Linked DNA regions of Homo sapiens: all the other regions are linked to region 3. Evidence: promoter capture Hi-C in 16 types of primary human blood cells and fetal thymus (Javierre and others, 2016). All regions are on one chromosome and are shown on one strand. The core of a region is centred on a gene start or on the middle of the fragment in contact, and the rest is flanking DNA. Distances in the headings are between cores, read along the strand shown.

Evidence for each region. The method cuts DNA at HindIII sites, captures the fragments that hold promoters and counts their contacts. A CHiCAGO score of 5 or more calls a contact.
Region 1: a fragment that was not itself captured here is called in contact with the fragment with the promoter of CARTPT in region 3 in 1 of 17 cell types (endothelial precursors); the score reaches 5.9 in endothelial precursors.
Region 2: a fragment that was not itself captured here is called in contact with the fragment with the promoter of CARTPT in region 3 in 1 of 17 cell types (endothelial precursors); the score reaches 5.2 in endothelial precursors.
Region 4: a contact is called between a fragment that was not itself captured here and the fragment with the promoter of CARTPT in region 3, in 1 of 17 cell types (endothelial precursors). The highest score is 8.5, in endothelial precursors.
Region 5: a fragment that was not itself captured here is called in contact with the fragment with the promoter of CARTPT in region 3 in 1 of 17 cell types (endothelial precursors); the score reaches 7.4 in endothelial precursors.

Annotation. Positions count from the first base shown.
Region 1 is chr5:71,537,125-71,541,473 of GRCh38, forward strand. It overlaps BDP1 (BDP1 general transcription factor IIIB subunit), which reads left to right. Exons shown (of 39, transcript NM_018429.3): 27 at 1,918-1,954; 28 at 2,433-2,525; 29 at 4,330-4,349. It also overlaps the pseudogene HMGN1P12. Among named protein-coding and RNA genes, the nearest start is that of MCCC2, 48 kb to the right of the region's middle. The HindIII fragment of the contact is 3,292 bases long and covers 1,454-4,349 here.
Region 2 is chr5:71,511,630-71,515,977 of GRCh38, forward strand. BDP1 (BDP1 general transcription factor IIIB subunit) reads left to right here. Exons shown (of 39, transcript NM_018429.3): 18 at 612-799; 19 at 1,556-1,778; 20 at 3,315-3,493. Among named protein-coding and RNA genes, the nearest start is that of BDP1, 58 kb to the left of the region's middle. The HindIII fragment of the contact is 913 bases long and covers 1,531-2,443 here.
Region 3 is chr5:71,716,821-71,720,888 of GRCh38, forward strand. It overlaps CARTPT (CART prepropeptide), which reads left to right and starts at 2,455. Exons shown (of 3, transcript NM_004291.4): 1 at 2,455-2,632; 2 at 3,060-3,143; 3 at 3,688-4,068. The coding sequence starts at 2,474. The coding sequence ends at 3,795. RefSeq lists an enhancer at 2,593-3,479. The HindIII fragment of the contact is 2,457 bases long and covers 1,608-4,064 here.
Region 4 is chr5:71,579,674-71,583,553 of GRCh38, forward strand. It overlaps LOC124900999 (a long non-coding RNA gene), which reads left to right and starts at 466. Exons shown (of 4, transcript XR_007058810.1): 1 at 466-926; 2 at 1,285-1,370; 3 at 2,777-2,900; 4 at 3,278-3,880. The HindIII fragment of the contact is 2,158 bases long and covers 534-2,691 here.
Region 5 is chr5:71,468,381-71,472,320 of GRCh38, forward strand. BDP1 (BDP1 general transcription factor IIIB subunit) reads left to right here. Exons shown (of 39, transcript NM_018429.3): 7 at 2,015-2,109. Among named protein-coding and RNA genes, the nearest start is that of BDP1, 15 kb to the left of the region's middle. The HindIII fragment of the contact is 2,526 bases long and covers 585-3,110 here.

The DNA of each region.
Region 1 (4,349 bases), core at 1,850-4,349, 180 kb before region 3:
CTCAAAGCCAAAAAACCAAAAAACCAAAAAAAAAAAAAAAAAAAAAAAGAACCAGAACCAAACCATGGGAATAAAAGTAACTTAAAAATTTCAAGACATCAGATACAGGACTGTGACTCCATATTGCCAGTTAATATAGTGGAATGTTAAGATGATACCCAAGACAGTCAAAGCCTCCCATAATTCAATATCGCACACTGTTTTCTGGTTGTACCAAAAAATAAACAACTGGAAAATGATTTTTACCCTTAAAAGCATGTACACTTAAAAAATGGGATGAGGTGGGATTTCCTTCTTCTTAAAAATGTTTCTAGAGTTACTAAAAAACTTGCATTTGTGAAATAGTTGAGAAAAATATTCCTCTGGAATGTACAAGAAGGGAGACAGGTACTATTGGTAAGACATAGTATATGATATTAATCAGACTTGGCTTTTTTTCTCTCTGGGCTTCATCAGAGGCTGGACTTTCCTTGGTTTTTGTTTCTCTGTTTTCTGTAGGTAAATCTGATTTCTTGGTTAGCCACTTTGGTTTGTTTTCCCTTTGTTCCCCGTTTTTCTCTTGTTTGCACTTTTTTTGTCTGGAGATTTATCCTTTCCTGCTGCCTTTTTTGGCTTTGTTTCCACTTTTGCAGGAGCAGGTTTAGCTGACAGTCATACTAATCTCATCTTGGGCTCTTTCCTTCACCGCCCTTCTGCTGAGCTGATCTTCCTCTTGGGCATCTTGTGGTCAGGAGTGTGCATGCTGGGTGCCTGTGAGCCGCACCATGCTGAGAGCCTTCTCAAAGCTGGGCTGCCTGGCTGCTACCACTCCTCCCATCCTGTCTTATCATTAAGTATGATGTTACCATGGATTTTTCATAAACGTCCTTTACCAGGCTAAAGAAGTTACTTTCTATTCCTAGTTTGTTGAATGTTTCTTTCATTAAAGGGTGTTGGAATTTGTCATATGCTTTTTCTGCATTTATGGAGATGATCATGTGAATTTTGTTTTTCATTGTATTTTTTGGACGTTAAACCAACCTTGCTTCCCCAGGATAAATTCTAGGATCATAATGTCTAATTTTTATTCATTGTTGGATTCAGCTTGCTAGTATTTTATTGGTGATTTTTATGTCCATATTCATAATAGATATTGGTCTGTACTTTTCTTGTGATGTCAGGAGATGAAGTCCTACTCCCCTAGGGAAAAATGCTCTCCAGGTGGGACCTTGGGGACTGGGGGCCTTGTATTTTTGGGTGCAGCAGTTTGAGGTGGAGTCTCTGCCATGCTGAGCTGGGAGGAAGGAGAGAGAAAGAGCAGTGTTAGTTCACATAGACTCTCACCTTTGTTAGCAAATTTTCAGATTTTCTTGAACAGATATTTCTTCATTTGCTTTTTGTCGTTAGGATCAGTTTCAGAGGCTTTTAAATGTTTTGTTTTTAAAATCAGTTTCACTGAGGAGTGGGTCAGTGAAGCTTCTCAAGCTGTCGCTCTGGACATTGGTTCTGTAACTTCTTAATTTATTAAAATGCATTTAAGTTTTAAGCTACGTAGTAGTATAAAAATTTTGCAATACCCTTTAGGCCTTGGTTTCCATTGGGTAAAAATTGGCAGCAGATATGACTAGAGTTGAAGGATTATGAAAATGAAGAAGTAAAGTAAGAATGGTAGACGTACATAACAAAATGATAAGAGTTAAAATTTGCACATAATACAAGAAAAAGATAAAGTCAGGAGCAAGAGACACAAGAATTTTGCCTTTAAATTGTTTATGTTCTTGCTGGTGAAATTTTGTGAATAATTATAAATTAAGACAAACCAGTTTACACTATTGTAGCTAAAAGTATGGAAAGACCTCTGAAAATGTAGTGCATGCTGAGAAACAGAACATGTTTGGGGAAGTATTTTAAGATGTTACTTATTTTTTTCCTTTTTAGGAAATGACCACAAGTGAACATATCCAAGATGAACCAGGTAACTGTTATCAAGGAAACTGCTAAGACTACCTTGATTAACACTAGTACAGTGATTTAATAGTGGGGATAATAAATGAATCAGTTTGCTGGAGAGTTTAACAAAAAGATTCAGCTATTGAATGTGTTGTCTCTGTGAGAAATGTGGATTCTTGGAATGTTATTTTAGAAGGTGAATTAAAAAAATGTTTAAGAAGTATTTGAGCATTTCCTCTGGATCTTCACAAATGGGAGAGCATTTTCCTTGAAGATATTATTTAATGGGAGGGAGGCATGGTCAGTGAGTCAAAACCAACAGTGATGATTTATTTATTTGTAGCATATAACCTGAACAAAAGACTACCTTAGTAAGGGATTAATGGCTCAGAGGATATTGGAATCTGCTCCTAGGAGATAAACACCTTAATTAAAAATCTTTTTTAAGTGAACAGATTTCCGGATTCATTCTTTTTTTTAATGTTGATATATTTCCTCACAAGGTACCAATGATGGAAGCACCGAAGCTGCAATAACTTTACTTACAATGGGAGATCTAGTATTGCAGTCAGAGATCAGTAGTGAACAGGGTGATGGTAAGAATGAAAGCTAAGTCCTATCAAAAATAGAAACTTTTAAAACCTAACTTAAGAAATTATACCCACATTTGAGTAATAACCCTTTTACCTTTGAAGTTGTCTCCATTTTGTTGTTCTTCCATAAAATATGATATGTATGTATTGATCCATCCACTATTTTACTACTGTTTAGGTGTAGTGACAGCTAATTCAAGATCATGCTCTTGGTTTATTAAGAATAATTTGTATTCATGGAATAGTTGTATGCATGGAATAGTTGTATGCATGGTAAAGGTAGTGAATACTACCTTTACCATCATAAATGTCATTGGTTAACTGAGCTCATTGATCACTGATATAGTTTATACATGTGTCTTTTGCAAAGGAGTTGCTGCTTGGGATGGTATTCACAATTAGATGACAAATAGAGCACAAAGAGACAATAGCACTCATTGAAATAATTTAGTTTAAACTGTTCTCAGTTTGGACAGAGCCAAAAGATATATCAACCAAGATTTTTAACTTATTAGATGGAAATCACAGACAAGTGATAAATCTTTACTATCTCAATATCTTTTAATTGCATGAAATGAATAATTATACTATTCCTGGTAATTATTTTGCCTGGTTACCATTCATTTTATTTACTTATTTATTTATTTGAGACGGAGTTTGGTTATGAGTAGCCTACCATTCATCTTATTTATTTATTTGAAGCAGAGTTTCGCTCTTGTCACCCAGGCTGGAGTGCAATGGTGCGATCTTGGCTCACTGCAACCTCTGCCTCCCAGGCTCAAGCAATTCTCCTGCCTTAGCCTCTCAAGTAGTTGGGATTACAATCGCATGCCACCATGCCCAGCTAATTTTTGTATTTTTAGTAGAGTTGGGGTTTCACCATCTTGGCCAGGCTGGTCTCGAACTGCTGACCTCAGGTGATCCACCCGTCTTGGCCTCCCAAAGTGCTGGGATTACAGGCATGAGCCACCGCACCCAGCTTCCATTCATTTTAAGTATTAGACTTTTGGGCCAGATGCAGCAGCTCATGCCAATAATACCAGCACTTTGGGAGGCTGAGGCTGGTGAATGCTTGACTTCAGGAGTTCAAGACCAGCCTGGGCAACATGGTGGAACCCCGTCTCTACAAAAAATACAAAAAATTAGGCAGGCATGGTGGTGTACACTTGTAGTCCTAGCTGCTTGGGAAGCTGAGGTGGGAGGATCGCTTGAGCTCAGGAGGTCAAGGCTGCAGTGAGCTGAGATCGCACCACTGCACTCCAGCCTGGGTGACAAAGTGAGACACTGTCTCAAAAATAGATAAATAAAGACATATTAGACTTTTAGGCTTGGAACCATGTATTTATCAGGAAAGTCTCTGATTTGTGTTCTGTATAGGGCTCCTTTCTTAGTGGCAGAGTATTGCAGTACAGCCTGTCAAAAACATATAGAACATAAAGTACATATAGAACATAAAGGTTTTAAAAATCTTAAATGCTGACAGTGCTGTCTTGAAATCCATCTGAGATTATATAATTACTGAAAGTAACAAAAGAACTCATTTTTACTAATAATCGGATAAAATTCCAGTCTGTAAGGATTATTAAGCTCACAACAGGTCAAATCCCTGGCATGAAATAGGGAGATCATAAATTTACAGCCAACAAGGGCAAAATTTATTTATTTCTAAAATCTTTTTCTATTGCTGCCACACAAATGAAGCAAACTTTAATAATACAGAATTTTACAATTACTAAATGTTGAGGAATTTATTTTGAGCATCTATAATTTGGTCCATTTTAATTTTGTTTTTTTTTTTTTTCTTCAGTAGGAGTATGTATAATTCCT
Region 2 (4,348 bases), core at 737-3,236, 210 kb before region 3:
GAGTGAGACCCTGTCTCAAAAAGAAATAAAAATAATTTCCAACTGTGAAAAAGTCACTGTTATTATTATTATTTTTTTTCTTTAAGTCAGATGGGCAAGGATCAAACTTTTCTTTTGGCTTAGGTTTGAGATCTCAAAAATGTCACTGTTCTTAATATCATTTGAAGTTACTCTTTTAGGTAAAAGAAGAATAGGAAATTAGACTGAATTTGTACTAACCCTAGCGTGAACACACATTATTTCTTTTGGCCACATCTGTATCTGCTTTTGTTTCTTGCCCCACCTGACTTACTTCACTTCTAAAAGTTCTTTTTGTTTTTTCAAGTTACTTTGAAGTTCATGATCTTCTAACATTTTCAAGGACTTTTTTTTTTTTCTAACTTTTAAAAATAGATAATGACATTTGTGGTTTGGGAAAGTAATAATATGCAACATAAAAGGGTTTCCTGAATTCCAAGTTTTAACATTTGGAAATTAAATTTTATTCAAAAATTAAAAACTTCTAAAGTTTTAAAGGAAAGTGTTTAGAATTTAGTAGACTTTTGTTTTAAATATATAAGATGTTTAAATACTCTTTTATTTGTGCTGATTTACTATGACTGTTCCTCTAGAACATTAGCAGTGAAGTACTGTCGATGATGCATACACCTGTAGAAGAAAAAAGAAATTCTGAAAAAGAAGTATCAAGTCACTTCAGTCATTTCAAGATTTCTTCACAGACTCATGAATCTGATAAAACAGAAGTCCAGGGGATTCAATCTCCAGATGTTCCAGAGCAGTTTTCAGATATTAATTTAAGGTACAAGTGTGTTTTTAAAGAAAAAGATATTAAGTTATAGTTGCAGATTACGTTAAACTAAGTGAGGTTTCAAGATATAACATATACAGGATAGTGTTAGAGCTTTTAAGATAGTTTTGGGAAGACTGGGAGAGAGGATTGAGGTCACTCTGACAGTCAATTGTGAAAGTTACTGACATACAAAATTGTATGTAACAGTCTTAAATCAATACAGGTTTGATAGACTCATATTTTCTTTGTGCAGAGATGGTGTAATTCCTAGGCTCATACCTGGATTGTACCACTCATGGTTTTCAGGATCTGCCAGATAGTTCGATTTGTTTTCCTGTTAAGAATTAGAATTAGGCCAAGTATGGTGGCTCACACCTGTAATCCTAGCAATTTGGGAGGCTGAGGTGGGTGGATCCTTTGAGCCTAGGAGTTTGAGACCAGCCTGGGCAACACGCTGTAGAAACCCCATCTCTATAAAATAAAAAAACAAAAACTAGCTGGGTGTGGTGGCACATGCCTGTAGTCCCAGCTACTTGGGAGGCTCAGATGGGAAGATCACTTGAGCCCGCGGAGGTCAAGGCTGCAGTGAGCTATGATTGTGTCATTGCACTCCAGCCTGGGGGATAGAACAAGACCCTGTCTCCAAAAAAAAAAAAAAAAAAAAAAAAATTAAATGTTTACCGCCAGTCTCTAAGGTTGTACTGAGACTCCGTTTCCACTGCCCCTTCAGTTCATTCTAAAGCTTGATAATCCTTGTTCCAAAAGCAAATCTCTTCCTCAAGAACAGAAGCCACTTGAAATTAAACCAGCACCTTTTGTGAGGAGCCGATTCAAAAGACCAAAACCAAACTTAGCAAGAGCAGCTTTGAAGAGAGAGACTACAGAATCAGAAAAATATATATATGAGAAGAAATCAGAAACCAAGAAAATGGAGACTATTGTGATGCAAGAAAATAATGAACAAACTGATACTCTCCCTTCTCAACATGTGAGTGTATTTGAGATGGAAGTTCTGTGTGGGTGTTTTTTTTTTTTTTTAAGTTATTAGGACTACTAAAAGCACCTGGCATTAAAATTCTACAAATATTTCTGTGTAATTTTTGCTGCATGTGATATTGCTCCCATGCTTAATGTGCCTCATTGTTCCACATAATTTGTGTAAGAATCTCAGATATCTGATAATGGGCAAACGTGTTGTGGGAAAGCGTTCAGGTCTGGGCTCTGGTTCCAGTTCCAGCTATGTGACCATTGATTAAACAATTTTCTTCATAGAAAAAATGACAATAATAGTTTTTTATTTTTTTTATTTTTATTTTTTTGAGATGAAGTCTCACTCTGTTCCCAGGCTGGAGTGCAGTGGCGCGATCTCGGCTCACTGCAACTTCCACCTCCCAGGTTCAAGCGATTCTCCTGCCTCAGCCTCCTGAATGCTGGGACTACAGGCGCGTGCTGCCATGTCCGGCTAATTTTTTTTTTTGTATTTTTAGTAGAGATGGGGTTTCACTATGTTAGCCAGGCTGATCTCGAACTCCTAACCTCGTGATCTGCCTGCTTTGGCCTCCCAAAGTGCTGGGATTACGCTGAGCCGTGGCGCCCAGCGAGAATAATCGTTTTTTATTTCACTCTCTTGTGAAGGTGAAATGAAGAGTTAAAAGCTTGATTTGAGTTAAAGGTGATATTTTATTTACTTTATTAACTTGGTCCATAACAGATTAAGATTGTGTGACATACCATCAAAAAAACATTGAAACGAAATGAATAATTATAAACTGAATGTTTTCCACATTCAGTGGAAGTCCTTCTTAGAATTAAAATTCTTATTTGATGTCTTAAAATAGCTCAGTACTTTACTGTGCATCAACATTTGTACTATTTCTCCTAAGCTTATATTCATAAAAGATAAGTTACATTTGTATTATACTTTCTGATTATAGAAATTTTAATTTGGAAAAATATATGTATTCTAAAAAGTGAGAGTCTTTTATAATGTCACGTCCCTTTCCCCCAAGTTAATCATACAGCAATTTTGAATATATCCACTTACACTTTTTCGTCTTACAGTTATAAAATGATAAAATGGGAAGGTATTTTTATTGTTTTCCAAAATGACATTAATTCTTGCTTTCTGATTTTTCCACTTACAGTATTGTGAGCTTCTTTTTAGATCAGTACAAAGAGATATATCTTCTTTTAAATGATTAGGTACTATTGCATTGTAAAGAAATTAAAATTTATTTATTCCATCCCCTAATGATATATCTGTTTTATTTCTGATTTTTTTGTTTGTCTTTTCCGGTGAGGGAGGTGGTGCTTAAATTGTTACAATAAATATTTTTGTGTGTATATTTCTACTTGTTGAGTATTTATAAGATACATTTCTAGAAGTGGAATTGCTGGGAATTTAGAATTTTGGTATAGACTACCCTATTATTCTTCACGAAGATGATATCAGTTTATACTTGTAAAGTTCTTATTTCCTTATACTTTTAGCAACTGTGAATGAAATTTTTTTTCTGTCTTCTAGGATGAAGCTTCCCTAATGATATCAAGAGAAAAAGACACATTAGGTCACAGGAATGAGGAGGCTGTGATATTGCCATGTACACAGACTGAAAGGAACCTTTCACCTTCAAATTCTTGTGAACCTAAAGAGGAGTCTCAGTCAGCACCAGTCCAGAAAAATGACTCAGTTGTTTCTGTGGGGTAAACAGTGATTTTCTTTGACAATATAAAATAAGAGAGATACTTCTTTTAAATATTTCTAATTTTTATTGAGATATGTTAATGCATTTAAAAAGTGAACATAAAGAATATTGGTTTAATTTTATTGATACAGCAGACTGCCTAAAATATAATATCAGATTGAATTCAACACCTTCTAATGGTTGCCTGCTTATCTGCATTGTCAGCTGCGTAAGAGTGTATACAAAGCAATGCATTTAAAAACTACAAGTTGAGCATCCCTAATAAAAAATTCTGAAATGTGCCACAATTTAAAACTTTTTGAGAGCTGACATGATGCTCAAGAAATGCTCAGTGGAGCATTTTGGATTTTCAAAGTAGGGATGCTCAACTGATAAGTATAATGCAAATATTTCCAAATCTAAAAAAATCTGAAATCTGAAACATTTCTGGTCCTAAGCATTTTGGATAGGGCTACTCAGCTTATATGTATATAAGCTATATATATTCATTAACTTTTAAAAATTAGTATACACATAAGATAAAATTTACCATTTTAACTATTTTTTAATATACAGTGGCATTAAGTGTATTCACATTGTTGTCCCGTTGCCACCACCATTCATCTCTAGACTTTCTTTTTCATCTTCATAAAATGAAACTCTCTACCCATTAAATACTAACTCATTCTCCTCCTCTTCCAGCTCCTGGCAACCACCATTCTATCTGTATATTTAGCTACTTTAGGCATATTATATAAGTTTATTACCTTTTAAGAATTGACATAACTGTTTTCTTTTGTAAAATAAGATGTTTATAATCAGAAAGCAATTTCCCTTTAATGGTACAAAGTATTTTTTAGAGTGTTTATTAGAG
Region 3 (4,068 bases), core at 1,205-3,704:
TCATGCTTTTGTTTCTTTTTGAGTTTTAACTTACATAAAAGTTGTCTTTGGGAAGAAGATAGCCTAGAATTTACTATACCATGCTAGCTAAAGACAGTTTATAAAGTCATTCTGTTCAAGATGAAGAAAAGCCTGTGGTATGTAAGTGACAAAGATGCCCCTGGCTTGTTTCACAGGATTTTCCAAGAGTCCTTTCCCTAACCCCTTAACTAAATGTGCCTTCCTTATAAGAAAATGATAGCACCAACTCAAGTTCAGCAAGATTTAAACTTTGGATTTTTTTCCAATAGAAGTAGCACAAAGGGAAAGTTATTACTTGTGTCTGGGTAGAACAAAATTGGAGAGAAAGTATTGCATTGACAATATCTACATCCTTCAGGAAGAATAGGCTAAAATCTTATTTGAGATTATTTTTCTTCTGAAGCTTAGAATAGTTTAAAGATCACTGGAGATGGTTTTTGCAGTGAGTGTCAATATGTCTCTGTAAGGTTTTAACAGTAAAACGTGCTGCCACTGAAGTTTTCTTGTGCAGAATCAAAAGGTATGTGTGGAAGGCAGAGCTGAGGGAGGTGTTAGATACATTTTCAAGTTGGGTTTACCCCACAGCAAAATATTTTGATGCTGTTAATATGTGTGCTATTCATTAGAAGAGATATCACTTCTTGAATTGCTTCCCAGTGAGTATTTGAGTACCAATTAAATACTTGATAGTTGAAGTAACCAGGCATATATTGTGTATTAAACTATCTTAATGACCCACATAATCTGCTATGCAATAAATTTGTGGGAGAAAAGTATTGATAGATGGTTTGGATTGAGTAGTCATAGATATTTACACTGAGATTTAAATAACAGAAGTAGTGAGCCTTTTGGAAATACAGGAAGACCTTTCAAGGAGGGGTAAGTGCAAAGACATCAAAGTATGAATGAGATTGGCCTGCTAGAGGACCAGAAAGAAGGCCATGTGAGGTTGGAGTGGAGGAGTCTGGGGCAGAGTGGTAGAACATGAGGTGGAGAGGGGTGAAGATCATATAATGCTTTGCAAGTCAGGATGAGGAATCTAGATTCAGTGCTTAGTAAGATTAGGAGTCATTAGTGTATTTTAAGGGGAAAAATACTCTGGTTGGTGGTGAACTATGGAGTAGAGGAAGGCAAGAGAAGATAGGGTGGGGATTAAGTGGTAGACATTAAGTTGACTGGGGCAGCTGTCTAGGACTGGGTTGTAGTAATGGGGATGGAGAAGAGTGGATGAATTTAGGAACAGTTGAGGGAAAGATGGTGTGGTGAAGGAAGCCAGGTGAGCAAGCAGGTCTAAGCGGGAAAGCATTGCTTTTCCTACAGGAATTTTCCTGTGCATTCAGGCTGTAAGGATCTCAACTTTTAAAAAAGCCACATTGTTCTCCCAAGTTGTTGGGGAGCTGGTTCACCATTGACTTCTGATCTCTGGAGATATTTTCATAATCATGGAGCTGTCTTTCTTTTCACTCTTTTACTCTCTTTCTAGACAGGCTTCTTGGATACCAAGGGTTGGTGGTGGGTGGGGGGAGGTTCTGGGGATGGTTAAATTTGCCTGGGCAGCCTCAAAGTTCAAAAAGGAGGGACAGGGAAGCTTAGCTAAGAACCAGGAGTTTGACATACTTAATCTCTCATTTCATCCTACTGATGACTTTGTGAGGTATATCTTTTTAATCCTAGATCTACAAAAGAGAAAGCTGAGGCTTGGAGAGGTTCTTCATTTTGTTCAAAGTCATACAACTTTTACGTGGTGTAGCCAGGATGGGAACCAGAGCCTGGCTCTCTGCACTTCCAACACCACTGCTGAATCCGGGTTTGTCTGTTTTCCCTCTCTTCTTTTAACTATTGTCACACAGATTCCATCATAGAACCCATCACGTGGAGGGCCACTATTTCTCTTTCTTTTGTATAGTATGTTTGCTTCCCCTACCCCACAGAGTAAGGTGCTCAGCAAATGTGGCTGTCTGGAGGCAACACCCCCTTCTCACCGCCACACTTGGGGTTGGGGTGCGAGGCAAGGCAGGGCTGGCGAGGTGGATGTTGCAGCTGTCACCACTGCTAGGTGTTGGGAAACGACTCTCCTGCCTGTGCATTGACCCGAAGGCATTTTCCATTTCCTAGGCCCCTCCCGCTTCCCGTCCCTCACCTCTAGCCCCTCGGCTTCAGCTCAGGCCCCTCGGGGAGCATCCCTTGCCGTGAGACTGACAGCCTTTGGGGGCGCAGGGTCCTGTTCTCTGCGCTCTAGCCCATCTGTGCGCAGAGCCTCGTTCCCAGGCGCCTGGAACCCGGCGGGCATTGACGTCAAGCGCCGGCGGAGCGCTGCCTACAGACGGTTGACCCGGGCCCTCCTCCACACCCCCTTCCTTCTTCGCCTCCTCCCTCTTTCCTGCACGGGGGCTCGGGCTCACTATAAAAGGTGGGAGCGCGTGGTGCCCCAGCAACGACGAGTTTCAGAACGATGGAGAGCTCCCGCGTGAGGCTGCTGCCCCTCCTGGGCGCCGCCCTGCTGCTGATGCTACCTCTGTTGGGTACCCGTGCCCAGGAGGACGCCGAGCTCCAGCCCCGAGCCCTGGACATCTACTCTGCCGTGGATGATGCCTCCCACGAGAAGGAGCTGGTCGGTATTCCCCTCGCTCTCGACCCCCTTGAGCTGTCGCCTTGTCTCTTCTCTTGCACGCCTCCCTCCTCCCCCCACCCCCACTCCTATTCCCAGAGTCAGGGCGCGGGGAGCTGAGCGCAACGCCCAGGCACCCACTGCCATCCGAAGAGCGTCTCGAGCTCACGGGCTCCTGGCAGTCTGTTGAGCGAATCCCTCATCCCGGCCCCTCTGAGCAACAGGGACCCCAGCGGCTCAGAGACCCGCGGTCAGTACCTGGGACAGCGTCCGCTAAGTTTCCACCCCTCGACCATTCCCTGTGTCCGCGGAGTCCCACCGCAGAGTGCGTGTGGGTCCGGGGCTCCTTATAACTAGGGCTGGAAGTGCGCACCTGGGCTGGGCTCGCAGCCAAGGCGGCAACTTCAGGCTCCGAAGCGGTGTGTTGCAGATCGAAGCGCTGCAAGAAGTCTTGAAGAAGCTCAAGAGTAAACGTGTTCCCATCTATGAGAAGAAGTATGGCCAAGTCCCCATGGTAAGGTTTGTGGTCACTCCCTTCCCGTGTTTTTCCAAGAGAAAGTACACCGCCTTGAATCGTACACACAGTCTTCTCCGTAGGATGTGGCTAAATAACTTAGGTAATGGGCTTGCAGGATTCTGTGGGCTCCTTCTTCCTTCCCGGGTGAGGAAATGGGAAAGCAGGAACAGGGGTTGTAAGAAAGTGTAAGTCTATTGTTTGTTGCTCAGGAAAAAGGTCTGATTTTTTTCCCCTCTGAGAGGGCAAGAAAAGGAGCCAGGAAATGTGATGCTCCCCTTCCCACGCCCCCCAACCCTCGCCACTTAAAGGTGGAAGAAACTAGGATAAAACTAATAATGTAAGTTTCTTTAAAAAATGTACTCTCACTGAGGTTATAAGCACAAGGCTCCCTGTTTCAGATCTGACTGTACGTAGACCTCTTGTGATGGTGATGGGGTCCAATTGCCCCTTTCAAGAGACAGAAATTGCGTTGACTGTGAGACTTGCCTGTTGGGAACCTGGGTTTGTTCATACTCGATGACCACACATTTTGTTGTTTCAGTGTGACGCCGGTGAGCAGTGTGCAGTGAGGAAAGGGGCAAGGATCGGGAAGCTGTGTGACTGTCCCCGAGGAACCTCCTGCAATTCCTTCCTCCTGAAGTGCTTATGAAGGGGCGTCCATTCTCCTCCATACATCCCCATCCCTCTACTTTCCCCAGAGGACCACACCTTCCTCCCTGGAGTTTGGCTTAAGCAACAGATAAAGTTTTTATTTTCCTCTGAAGGGAAAGGGCTCTTTTCCTGCTGTTTCAAAAATAAAAGAACACATTAGATGTTACTGTGTGAAGAATAATGCCTTGTATGGTGTTGATACGTGTGTGAAGTATTCTTATTTTATTTGTCTGACAAACTCTTGTGTACCTTTGTGTAAAGAAGGGAAGCT
Region 4 (3,880 bases), core at 363-2,862, 140 kb before region 3:
TCTTTGAAATAATTTTAGACTCACATAGAAGTTGCAAAAATAATACAAAAAGTTCCCCTTGTATCCTTCACTTTTCCCCCATGATTATGTAAGTGTAAATAAAAATCTAAAAACAATTAAAAATTGAATTTTCCTAGAAAAGAAAGAATCCCCCAGTCTGTCTTCAGAGCGTTTACTTTAGAAAACTTGTAATTGTGAATTCCTTCTCTGCCCTTTGAAGATGTATTTACATCTTCTTTTATGAGGCTCGCTCTTTCGCCAGCCTAGAGTGCAATGGCACAATCTCGGCTCACTGCAACCTCCGACTCCCTGGTTCAAGCTATTCTCCTGTCTCAGCCTCCCAAGTAGCTGAGATTACAGGCACGGGCCACCATGCCCAGCTAATTTTTGTATTTTTAGTAGAGACGGGGTTTCACCATGTTGGCCAGGATGGTCTCAATCTCCTGAGCTCGTGATCCGCCTGCCTCCACCTCCCAAAGTGCTGGGATTACAGGTGTGAGCCACCATGCCCGGCCTACATCTTTTTTTAAATAAGCTTAATAACCCATGAGAAAGGTGTTAGTTTAAAAAAAAAAAGATAAATAAATCTCTTGTCAGTTTTTTTTTTCCCCAACCCCATAATCTTATCCTTAAGGACCTGGAAGCCTTCTCTTTGAAATGAAATCATCGAGGGAAATAGCATTCCTATTTCCTAGTCCTATGGAAGGGTAGGAACCTAACTTCAGCTGGCACCTGTTAAGTTACAAACCTACCATAAAGACATAAGAAATTTAATTTTCCTTTGGATAAAGACAATTAACAAACACAGGTGACTACTCCGATTCGCAGGTGACAGGTGGTGCTGTGAAGTCATCTTATTTGAGGACTAGTTGTTTATCTTGAAAACATGTATGACATGGGTTGCATCTGCCTGGTTATATAAAGGGGTGAGTGTTTTTTATTTTTTTGAGACAGAGTCTCACTCCGTCACCCAAGCTGGAGTGCAGTAGCGCAATCTCGGCTCACTGCAACCTCTGCCTTCCAGGGGTGAGGGTTAGGTTGTCTTTGCAATCTCTTTAGCAGATTGCCTGTAATGCACATCACATTCTGGTTTGATAGGTTTTCAAATACTAAAATTGTTTTTTTCTCTTCTACTTTAATGGAGAGGTTTTTTGTTGTGGCAGGAATTTTTGTCTTAAATTATATTTCCCCAAGAACATCTTATATAATCCTAGTACAATGATGAAAACCAGGAAATTGACATGTGCGCAATACTATTAACTAAAGATTTTATTCAAATTACAGCCAATTCTCAATATCCTCAAGGATTGGTTCCACAACTCTCCTCCTCCACCAAAACCCCAGGATGCTCAAGTCCTTTATATAAAATGGTATGAGCATATGTCTTATGCACGTCCTCCCATGTACTTTAAATTTTCTCTGGATTATTTCTAATAACTAATACAAATGCGAATGCTATGCAAATAGTCATTATACTGCATTTTAAATTTGTATTTTTTTATTGTATTGTTGCGTGGTTTTTTTTTTTTTAAGACAGGGTCTCAACTATTGCCCAGGCTGCAGTACAGTGGTGAGATCGTAGCTCACTATGGCCTCGACCTCCCATGGCTTAGGTGATCCTCCTGCCTCAGCCCCCGAGTAGCTAGAATTACAGGCTCCACCACTCCCAGCTAATTTTTGTATTTTTAATAGAGATGGGTTTTTCGCCATGTTGCCCAGGCTGGTCTCAGACTCCTAGGCTCAAGTGATCCGCCCACCTTGGCCTTCCAAAGTGCTGGGATTATAGGTGTGAGCCACTGCGCCTGGCCTGTATTGTTATTTTTTTATTGTCTCTTCCCACCCAATATTTTCCATCTGTGGTTGGTTGAATTTGCCGATGTGAGATCTGGGGATACAGAAAGCTGGCTACATATCATGCTTACAGGCAGTGCATGTGTATATACAATTCCATGAAATTTTATCCCATGTATAGGTTTATGTAACATCACCACAGTCAGGGTACAGAGCTGTTCCATCACCCCGAAAGTCACTCTCATGCTGTCAATTATAGTCATTCCCTCCTCCAGCTCTAACCCTTGACAACCACTTATCTGTTCTCCACTACAACTTTTTTTTTTTTTTTTTGGTCACCTAGGCTGGAGTGCACAGCTCATGGCAGCCTTGACCTCCCATGCTCAAGCAATCCTCCCATCTCAGCCTCCCAAGCAGCTGGGACCACAGGTGCATGCCACCACGCTCAGCTGTTTTTTTGAAAAAAGTTTCTGTAGAGACTGGGTTTTGCTATGTTGCCCAGGTTAGTCTCCAACTCCTGGGCTCAGGCGATCCCCCACCCCTGCCTTGGCCTCCCAGAGCGCTGAGATTACAGGCATGAGCCACCATGCTGGGCCCACAACTTTTCATTTCATTAAAATGGGATCATACAGTATGTAACTGTGCAATAAAGGGTTAATTCAGCAGGTTTGGGTTGTACACATTCCAAAGAAGGAACTGACACTTGACCAGTTCCTTAACCTATAAGCCCTTGAAATAAATGTCCTGCCTTTTAAGAGTTTTTGTATACCTGGGGCCTTCAGCCATGACAGATAGTTTATGCTAATTTTATGCTGATTTAAAACTGTATCCTTTCACTGTAATAAGCCATAACTGAACATAGCTTTTCTGAGTTCTGTGAGTCTTTCTAGTTAATCATTAAGCTTAAAAGTGGTCTTGGATAACCTTTAGAGATTGTGCTTTACATAAAATCTAACTTTTTTTGTTTTTGTTTTTGTTTTTTAAGAGTTGGGGCCTCGTTCTGTTGCCCAGGCTGGAGTGCAGTGGTGCAATCATAGCTCACTGCAGCCTTGACTTCCTAGGCTCAAGTGATCCTCCCACCTTGGCTTCCGAAGTAGCTGGAACTACAGGTACGCGCCACTATACCAGGCTAATTTTTTAAGAGTGGGGCCTTGCTGTGTTGCCCAGGCTGGTCTTGAACTCCTGGGCTGAAGGGCCTCAGCCTCCCAAGTAGCTGGGATTGTAGGTGTGAGCTACCGTGCCCTACATCATTTTTATTGCAGGCAGTATTGTGTCATATGGATTTACCATAATTTGCTTATTCATTCATCTGTTAATGGACATTTGGGTTGTTTAGAGATTTTGTGTATTACAAATAAAGCTGTTATAAATATTTTTGTTCAAGTTTTTGTATGCACACGTAATTTTATTTACCTTGAGTAGATTCTTATAATAGTGAAAAGTAAAAAAGCCTTTATCACAGCTTGGAGTCTATTATCTTCTGTAGATGCAGGGCAGTTTGGCCGAGAATCAAGCCAGGATTTGACAAGAAGGGAGTTGAAGGGTCAATGAAAGGTACAGTATGATATAAGGACACTACACAGGAAGGAATGGAAAGCTGAGAAATAGGATGGACACATTTGGGCAGATGTGGTCAAGACCCAGACTCTCAAATGCCCAAATCCCCTTGAGCTTTTCTCAGAGTGGAGGCAACCTACCCTCATATCCACTCCCCATTCCTGACCAGCCTTTCCCTGTGTAAAAGGCACTTAGTCGCTTCATCTGGGGCAGTTGCCTTATGAGCTGATGCTAGTTCTTGTAAGGGACTGATCCTACCCTGCCTCCTTGCCTCTGGATCTTAACAGAAGTTAGTTATTCCAGTGCAAACCAAAAAGTACTGAACGTGGCCCAGAAAGAGATAGTTTCTTGCCAGTGTGTATTGGCAAGAGTTAGGGAATATGGAAATGGATTGTTACGCCAAGGAAAACAAATATAAGGTTGGATTGGGATAAATGTATAAACATGAGTGCATGTGCTGGCATGTCAGTCATGTTTTCCAAAGATAGTCACACAATGTCTCTCATCTTTTCTGCCAGTGGCCTTGACACTC
Region 5 (3,940 bases), core at 598-3,097, 250 kb before region 3:
CTAGGCTCAAGCGATCCTTTGCCTCCCGAAGTGTTGAGATTATAGGCGTGAGTCGTTGTGCCCAGCCCAGAAATTTTTTTTTTTTTTTAATTTCTTTCAGTCACTGTTCTGCTGAAAGAAATATTTTTTAAGAATTACCTTTATAGTCGTTTTGGCTGGAATGTTCCTCTCTGTCAAATCTCTACAGTAAATACCATTTAAATAAAAATTAACAATACAATATTTCCTTTTTTTTTTTTTTTTGAGATGGAGTTTCGCTCTTGTCGCCTAGGCTGGAGTGCGGTGGCGCGATCTCGGCTCACTGCAACCTCTGCTTCCTGGGTTCAAGCGATTCTCCTGCCTCAGCCTCCCGAGCAGCTGGGATTACAGGCGCCTGCCACCATGCCCAGCTAATTTTTGTGTTTTTGGTAGAGATGGGGTTTCACCATGTTGGCCAGGCTGGTCTCGAACTCCTGACCTCAGGTGATCCGCCTGCCTCAGCCTCCCAAAGTGCTGGGATTACACGCGTGAGCCACTGTGCCCAGCCAACAATACAATATTTCTAATGCGAATAATGTTCTACCTCAGATAATATTGTATAATAAAGCTTCTATAGATAAATATGCTGTTAAAAATCTGTTGCATGTTGGTGCTTATTGTTTTTATTTTAAAAACAGTAGTTTTGAGGAAAAATTCAAACAGCAGGATATAGAGTAAAAAGATTCTATACTTCCCTTCTTTCACTTCCCTATTCCTATTCTCCTGAAGTGTAACTTCTGTTAGTAGTTTCTTTTTTTGAGACCGAGTCTCACTCTGTCACCCAGGCTGGAGTGCAGTGGTGCGATCTTGGCTCACTGCAGCCGCCACCTCCTAGGTTCAGGTGATTCTCCTTCCTCAGTCTCCCGAGTAGCTGGGATTACAGGCATATGTCACCATGCCCAGCTAATTTTTGTGTTTTTAGTAGAGACGGGGTTTCACCATGTTGGCCAGGATGGTCTGGAACTCCTGACCTCAAGTGATCTGCCCGCCTCGGCCTCCCAAAGTGCTGGTATTTACAAGCGTGAGCCACCGTGCGTGGCCTCTTGTGTATTTTTCTAGCTACTTTCTTTATATACTACTTAGCACATCTTAGTTGCCTATGTAGTGTAACCCTATCCTGAGTATGACTCATAGCTTTCTTCAGAGCACTTTGAATAAGATCAGCTAGGCAGAATGAATGTTTTAAAAAAAAAATTCCAGATGCTTTTGTATGATTTCTTTTTCTTTTTTTTTGAGGTGGAGTCTCGCTCTTTCGCCCAGGCTGGAGTGCAGTGGCGCCATCTCAGCTCACTGTAACCTCCGCCTCCCGGGTTCAAGCTATTCTTCTGCCTCAGCCTCCCCAGTAGCTGGGATTACAGGTGCACGCCACCACGCCCAGCTCATTTTTTTTTTATTTTTAGCAGAGACAGGGTTTCACCATGTTGGCCCGGCTGGTCTCAAACTCTTTTTTTTTTTTTTTTGAGATGGAATTTCACTTTTGTTGCCCAGGTTGGAGTGCAATGGCACGATCTCGGCTCACTGCAACCTCCGCTTCCCGGGTTCAAGCGATTCTCCTGCCTCAGCCTCCCACATAGCTGGGATTACAGGCATGTGCCACCATGCCCAGCTAATTTTGTATTTTTAGTAGAGACGGGGTTTCTCCATGTTGGTCAGGCTGGTCTCAAACTCCTGACCTTAGGTGACCCACCCGCCTCAGCCTCCCAAAGTGCTGGGATTACAGGCGTGAACCACCGCGACCGGCCCTGGTCTCTAACTCTTGTCCTCAAATGATCTGCCTGCCTTGGCCTCCCAAAGTTCTGGGATTATAGGTGTGAGCCACCATGCCCAGCCTACGATTTCTTATACTGAAAAGTTTTTATTTATAATAAGGTGTTTTTAGGTATTGCATGGGGATCTTTCTAGTAAAATTAAGTACTGTCAAATTCTGTAAGATTTCTTTTCTCTGAAATATTGATATAATTAATTTTCAATCATTCTAAATCTTTTATTTTCACAGAAACAGATATGTTTTTTTTAGCCATCAGCATGGTAGGAACTGACTTTTCTATGATCGGACAACTTTTTCCTCACAGAGCAAGGATAGAAATTAAGGTAAAGTAAACCCATCACATTTGTTGATTGGAAAGAGACCAAACATTACAAATGTTAGTAGTATTATTCGCTTACCTTTGGTTTAAATCTTAGTTCATCTTTTTTTTTTTTTTCATTGAGACAGAGTTTCACTTTGTTGCCCAGGCTGGAGTGCAGTGGCACAGTCTCGGCTCACTGCAACCTCTGCCTCCGGGTTCAAGCAATTCTCATGCCTCAGCATGTCACATAGCTGGTATTACAGGCACCTGCCACCACGCCCGGCTGATTTTTTTACTGTTTTAGTAGAGACGGGGTTTTACCATGTTGCCCAGGCTGCTGTCGAACTCTTGAGCTCAGGTTAATCCCCCCATCTTGGCCTCCCAAAGTGTTAGAATTACAGGCTAGAGCCACCGTGCCCAGCCCTTTTTTTTTTTTTAAACTGTTATGATGGTTTTGTTACATTTATCCCTCTTTATTGAAAAGTAATATTTATCAGTTCTGATATGGGTATAATCTTCTTTATGTTAGTTTCATATTTTCTTATATCTTCTTCATTTCTAAAATGAATTTGAGGCAGTACCAATAAAAATGCACTGCAACTAAGATATAAGAAGAGTTACATAATGAAAAGAGAAGATAAATGTACCAGAGTACTTTGGTTAAGGGTAGCTTTTTTTTTTTTTTTTTTTTTTGAGATGGAGTCTCGCTCTGTTGCCCAGGCTGGAGTGCAGTGGTGCGATATCGGCTCACTGCAACCTCTGCCTCCTAAATTCAAGTGATTCTCCTGCCTCAGCCTCCCTAGTAGCTAGGATTACAGGCGCACACCACCACGCCCAGCTAATTTTTTATTTTTCGTAGAGAGGGGGTTTTACCATGTTCGTCAGCCTGGTCTTGAACTCTTGACCTCTGGTGATTCACCCACCTTGGCCTCCCACCAAGTGCTGGAATTACAGGCGTGAGCCATCATGCCCGGTTGAGGGTAGCTTTTTCAATGCAAAATGTATTTCAGAATTTCCTAGGAAAGCTTAAAGAGAAGAAATCTGAGTTTACACAGTTCTCATTTTCTGATCCGTTGCTTTCCTAGGCCCCCTTAACTTTGGGACAACCAGTGGCACTAATAACAACAGTGATGTCAGTTACAGCTATTATATGCCCAAGAGGATGAGCTTTCTCTGTTTTTTAGTTTCTTTGCTTGAGAAACTTTATACAAGTTTTCTGGGTTTAAGTGCATTTGAGTGTCATCACACTATGTTGCCATAATGCATTCTCAATTGATAGTGAGATCTTTACTCAACCATGGGCTTTTTACTTCATTTCTCATCCCTATCATGTTCATTACATTAATAAAAGGAACCATTAGGAAGGTATGTTTTTTCCACTAGAACTAAATTAGGCATGGATTGTCTGGGGACATTACATAAGGGGCATTGTACAGTGTAATGAAATAGTCTTGTTATTTCTGCAAGAGATGAGGAACTTTATATTCTTCATGTTCATTTTCTAATGTTGATCTTTGATAAAAGAACAAAATGTTAAAATTCTGTGAAGGCTAGAAATTGATTTTCTGGAATTGGAGTGCTCTGCTGATCTGTGTAATTAATTATAAATTTGTCACTGGGCTATTTGTCTCAAAAATCATGTATATTCTTTTCCTGAAAGGTTACTATGGCTCTAGCAGGTCGTTGGGTAAAGTGTAGAAAAGTGAGAGTAGGCTGGGCATGGTGGCTCACGCCTGTAATCCCAGCACTTTGGGAGGCCAAGGCAGGTGGATCACCTGAGGTCAGGAGTTCAAGACCAGCCAGGCCAACATGGTGAAACCCCGTCTCTACTAAAAATACAAAAATTAGCCGGA